Regions from separate parts of the Homo sapiens genome. Here region 2 is linked to region 1. Evidence: promoter capture Hi-C in 16 types of primary human blood cells and fetal thymus (Javierre and others, 2016). All regions are on one chromosome and are shown on one strand. Each heading gives the region's core, a stretch centred on a gene start or on the middle of the fragment in contact. The rest is flanking DNA. Distances are from core to core; before and after follow the strand shown.

Region 1 (2,985 bases), core at 130-2,629:
AAGAAAAAACTTACTCCTGTTAACACCAAACAGATTTGCTCCCATCTATAAAACACAGTGCCACTGTGCTCAAGAGGAAGATGTCAGAGACTTAGGCCTAACTCGGCAAGTCTTCCCAGAGTAGCTAGTCCTCTAAAATGATGCTTTAATAGGCTTAACGGAAACAATCTCATTTACAGTGAGGCTTCCAAATGGTGAACACGGTAAAGAGCAAATCAGCAACATTAAGTGCACATTTGTTTGTGGGAAGGCATTAGGAAAGAGGTTTTTCTAAGTACAGTAATTCTAAAAATGTGTTTTCTTAGGGAACAATAGTAATATTTAGACTAATTGCAAATGTTAATATGTGCAATATAATTTCAGTCTCCATCCTACATATACATTTTTTTTTACCACCAGTACTCAAAATGTTTATTTGTACTTCTCAATTCCTATCAATGATTTCTAATGCTGGTGTATGAAAAGCATGCTTGAAATTGTTTGAAATAAAGGACTTAGGGACAGAGTGGAATGCTGGAAATCTGTAAAAGGACTGGAAACGCTGGAATGCTGGAAATCATGGTAGGCGCATAGCCAGTTATTTTCGTAGGCTTCTCTATCTCTAATTACTCAGCAGAGGTGGTTTTATTTTCCTTGACAGTCTGCTCTAGGAAGCAATCAGCCAACCAGTTTGCAATTGTAGGGTTTGTAAGAAATGAAAAACACTGCACCTGCAAGTGTTTTAGCATCTACCACTATTCGGCTTACTTACGTAACCTCCTTCCCAAGACCAAGTCAGTAGGATTGTTTTTAAAGCAACCTCTCCATTTCTAGGAGGGGCACAAAAGCTAGCAAATACCCCAACCCGAATACAAGCGAGGTTGTGGAGAAAGTAATGAAGGAGTTTGTGTGCAAACAGCGGGGAAAGGAGGTTCTGTTGAATTGTACCGTGTGTCCGTTCTCGTGCTGTACAGGCAATGAGTGTAGTCTGTGCGAACCGGGTGTGTGACGTTTGCTTTTCGGGTGTACGGGTCTCCGAATGCTGCTTCTGCTGTGCTCACCAAGGGAGCGCGTGTGCGGCGTGTGTCTGCGAAGCGGGCAGGTTGTGTTTAGTTGTGCTGTGCCTTGGAACAGTCCGTGTGAACAGAGGAGGGCTTACGGTTAACAGACAAAATACCGTAAGCGCCCTTCCTAGAGCCAGGCACAGAGACAACGGCGGCCTCTGGCGCCGGCACAAGGGACAGCGTGGCCCGGATCTCAGAGCCTGGGTCACTCCTCCTCCCCTCCAGCGACACAGCACTCCCCCAACCCTTCCGCCCACCTCCGCCGAGCCTCGGCTGCACTCACCTCTCTCCAGCCGCACGGGTTCCCCTAGCGCCGCCATCTTCTCCCTTAACCTACAGACCCACAGGAAATGACGACAGAAGGGCTGAGGTGGGGGGGCGGGGCCTAGGGGAAGCCGGAAAAGTGAGTACCGGCTAGTATCGCGAGATCAGGAAGGTGGCCGAGTGTGTCGCCGCGGCCATCAGGGTAAGGGTACCTGGACTTGCGGCTTTTTAGGTCGGCCTGGCTCCGCTCCTTCCGCGGTGACGAGGTCCCCCGGCCTCCTAGGGTTGGGAAGAGCTGCTTTCCTGACTCTCGTTCCCTGCCTCAGGCTTCCCTTATCCCAATCGCTTCGAACCCTTGGCTCAGCGTAGAGGAGTCAAGCCTGGATTCTAGTCCCACCTTGCCCATTAGCAGCTCTGTGACCTGGGACTGTTCACTTACCCTCTCTCAGCCTCAGTTTCCGCATCTGTACAACGAGAGGTCCTATCTCTTAGGTCCTTACAATTTTTAAACTCTGGGATTCGGTGGCAATTAAATGTGTAATGACATGTTGTCAGTTCTCAATTTGTGACAGCATTGCTTTAAATTTAAAAATCCACGGCTTGAATCTTCCCTCCAAATCTGTTAAGGGGTGGAAAGTACAAAGAGCATGAAACATATCTGGGTGAGGGAGAGAACAAGGTGCTTTGGTGCACCACAAAGTAACAATTTTATAAGCAGCTGATTCTTATAAAATCTTAAGTAAATGAAATATTGTGAAGCAAATAATATTCTTAATGCATTACAGATTTTTGAGCCACTTCTGAAATTTTCGCGAACCAAGAAGAATTTTAGTACTTGGATTTGACTAACATTTATCCAAGCCCTTAGTCTGTACTGATACTGTGGTAGGTGTGTTTACATCCAGCATTTCAACACTTCATGATGGGACTGTTTTAATAACCTGTTTGCCCCTGGTCCACCCTTTCCATTCACCTTTAGTATTTTCTTCTCCAAATCCATCATGGATGCCACCACTATGCTCCTTTTTCTCCCCTTGAATTCTGATTTCATCATCACAAGTTCTGTTCAGAAACTTTCAATGGTTTCTCTCCTGTTTCCTATTTCTAAAGCCTTGCATACTCTGACCCTAACTCATCCAACTAACTTCATTTCTCATTACCACTAAGTGCAACCACCACTTCAGTCCAGATAGTATAGTTTCAACCATATTTATTCCTGATTCCAAGTCTTTTTGTTTGTTTTAGAGACAGAGTTTCTCTCTGTTGTCCAGACTGGAGTGCAGTGGTGCAATCACAGCTCAAGAGAGCCTCCTGTCTCAGTCTTGCCAGTAGCGAGGACTACAGGCAAGCACCACCATGCCTGGCAAATTTTTAAATTTTTAGTAGAGATGGGGGTCTTGCTATGTTGCCCAGGCTGGTCTCAAACTCCTGAGCTCAAGCAGTCCTCCTGCTTTGGCCTCCCGAAGTGCTGGGATTACAGGCGTGGGCCACTGTGCCAGGCTCCAAATCTTCATTTGTGTTGTTCTTGTGTGGAATGCCCTTCTTCATCCCTTCCTAGTCTCCAAACTTTGTACACACTCAGTTGAACCCATTTCGTGGGTCCCTGCTGAAGGCATGCCACTTCTACCAAGCCTTTTCTCCATATTATTCCCCTTTTTTGTCCTCTGATGGCCTAAAT
Region 2 (2,985 bases), core at 265-2,764, 1.2 Mb before region 1:
GCCTCATGTGACACTGAGAAAGTAAATCCTTGGTACTGACATGGTGATATTATGAACATGCTAGTTTCCCAAACTTTGAACATAAAGCAATTAATTCATAAATCTAAAATGGCTACATACAAATGACACATAATGCCATCTGTTGGTTACTTTGTTATACTTTTGCTTTAGGTTAGGACATCCTTTTGCACTTTGGAACTATGAAACTTCAAATAAAGTAAGCAGAGATACTTCAGTGATATACCATTTTTAATTTTTTTAAAGATTTTTTAATTTATACCTACTCTTCTTCAACTATCAATTTATCTGTATGGATATGAAAGGAAACACAACAAAGCATGAGCATGGTTAGGAAGGAGAAATGTAGGGGAAGAGAAGAAGGAAACCATTTTTATCTTAAACAAATATATATTAATTTTTTATTTATAAAATACTAATTTCATTACTCAAAAAATTTAAAAGGTTACCTCAAAATGCTATAATTTATCTTTAACTCTATCAATATGGTCATTGATTTCAGAGGAATTTTCTGTAAATTCTTTGATTTTAAGGGTCATGCTGCTATAAAGCTTTTGTGTTTTTATTGCTTTATTCACATATTTGTGGGGCTGACCAGCGTTATATTTAGAAGAAATGGAATCTGGATTTGTTCTTAAGCTGACATATTTAGATTCATGCTGCTAAAATGAAATACAATTTACTGAAAAATGTTTTCTTACTCAATAGGAATGGCCAAATCCACTAAAAAGAAGAGAAAATAAAGACATATTTCATTTTTATGCTACAGTATTTCATGGCTACACTCTCACTAGAGTGAAATATGATTCTTTAGAGAAATCTAAAAAAATCTACAATAATGTTTCTAGGATTTTTATTCACTTTCTGTTTGGTAGCCATGAGGTGCCTGACCTTCTTTTGACTAAATGCTGAAGCCCATAGTTTATAAAATCCTACAAACACATCTGTAATTCAAAGCAATCCATTAAAATGGATATTTCCCCCAAATGGAAAAACCATGAGGAGGTCCTCATCCCTCCTTTGAGGATGGAGGCAGGAGTTAATGCTGTTTTCTAAAGTCATACTGTAGGTCAGAGGTTAGCTTTTCACCTGCGTAACTCTGGAGGTCAGATCTCAGGACATAGGGTGAATGTTCTAGTGCAGCAGATTTCAAGGTGGTGTTGAAGTGCTTTCTGGCATCTAGTCCAATAACCAAGGACTAATATACAGTGAGAGAATTAACACAAGAAACCACATCAATGTTTGAAGATTTTCCTTTCTTGTCTCCTTTTTAGCTAAAGAACTTTAATTAAATAATCTTGCTTTTAATTCTCGTTTGGTTGCTTTCTAAATATGTGACTTTAAATGAGTCACTTAACCTCTCTGAAGCTGTATTCACTGTCATTTGTTCAAGGGAATAACACTATCATCTTCACTGGTTTGGGGAAGATTAAAATACAGTAATATACACAAAATGTGTACTAGAGTTAGCGGCCAAATATGGGTGTTCTGCACAAGGGAGGCCTTGCTTGCTTGATGAAAGTATGTGCATTTGCATATCAGCAAACAGTTAACCCTTGGCTGCACTTTGGAGCCTGGCCCAAGTTTCATGTCCATTCCTGACCCATTTTTCATATCGGTATCCCAAAAGATACCATACTTATTTGTCCTCAAATATCGTTGCATATGAGAAGAGTCACCTAAGACTCTTGTGAAAAATGCAGATACCTAAACTCTACCTTAAAAATTCTGATTAGGAAGATCTGGGAAAGAACTCAGGAATTAAAATTTTAGCAACCATCCCCAGGTGAGTCTGAATCAGGGCCCATCAGACCCCATTCGAGAAACTCTGGCTTCATTTGTATAGGCAAATTTGATATTTGTATAACTCTTTGCTCTTTCCAAGAAACACCAACACTTTAAGTGAAATGAGGCTAACTGCATACAGGCTGTCTTAGGATGGTCATGCTGGTGTTCAAATAGGGATCCGTTTCTAAACAAATAAACTTCCATAAAATGGATATTCCCTAAGGAGTTATACTTCAGCAGATTAGCCATGATTCTCAGTTAAAACAGCATCACCCACTTTGTTCTATTTCTGTTAGGAATACACTAGGTTAGACCACGCTTTCAAAGGCCAATTCAATGCGTTTGAAATATGCTCCTATCTCTTTCACATAAAAATAAAATTGGTTAACCTTACTCCTACCTCCCTCTAAAGGTCATCTCCATCAAAATGATATCCTTCACCTCTCTGGTTTTCATTACTTTTGGGCTTTGATGGGTATAATTGGTCAGCGTGACTTCAAAGAGACTCAAATGATATTTCACCTCTGTCACTTGAGAGACTGACCTCTCCTTTTGCAGTAATGGGCTCTTTGTAACCTCCTCTGAGGTCACCTTAGTTGCTTAAATGTGGTCTAATTTCAAGCAGTTGTGTGGTATCTAATCACAGCACGCGGTAAGCTTGCCCTCTAGTGGCTGCCATTCATATTGCACTGCAGGAATTTGGTTCTACCTTCATTTACTTGGGGGCAGGGGTAATTTAAGTCAGAAATAAATCCATCCATATAAAAAAGTAGATATCTCTCTATTTCACAAAATATCCTTCATGTGATTTTTTTCTTAGTAACTATTTTTGATGAATTTAAATGAATAACATTTTAATAAAAATAAGCAGTTGTAAGTAATGCATTGTGTGTGTGTTTAGTGAAAGGCTAAACATTATATTTCTCATTATATAAATAGAAGAGAAAACAATTTGGAAGGAAAAGATAGAATTGCCCACGCTACATTGAAACTTTAGCATAGATGGATCATGATATATATTAAAGAATTTCTTTTGATTCCCAGGATGTCTGAATTCTCATATTGTCATCTTACCTCCCTATTAAGAATCCTTAAGTGGATCCTAATGGCAATAAGTTAATGTATAAATCCTTAACACAGTGTAAATAAAACTTTCACAATTTGTCTCTCAAAATCTTT

The links. Contacts are between HindIII fragments. The CHiCAGO score rates a contact against its expected background, and 5 or more counts as called.
Region 2: a fragment that was not itself captured here is called in contact with the fragment with the promoter of LIN7C in region 1 in 1 of 17 cell types (fetal thymus); the score reaches 6.6 in fetal thymus.

What each region holds. Positions count from the first base shown.
Region 1 is chr11:27,505,390-27,508,374 of GRCh38, forward strand. LIN7C (lin-7 cell polarity scaffold C) reads right to left here and starts at 1,380. Exons shown (of 5, transcript NM_018362.4): 1 at 1,327-1,380. The coding sequence starts at 1,363. BDNF-AS (BDNF antisense RNA) reads left to right here and starts at 1,463. Exons shown (of 7, transcript NR_033315.1): 1 at 1,463-1,509. RefSeq lists enhancers at 941-2,140, 1,297-1,426, 1,497-1,786. The HindIII fragment of the contact is 9,378 bases long and covers 1-2,985 here.
Region 2 is chr11:26,274,549-26,277,533 of GRCh38, forward strand. It overlaps a transcript of ANO3 not described here. Among named protein-coding and RNA genes, the nearest start is that of ANO3-AS1, 12 kb to the right of the region's middle. The HindIII fragment of the contact is 1,894 bases long and covers 568-2,461 here.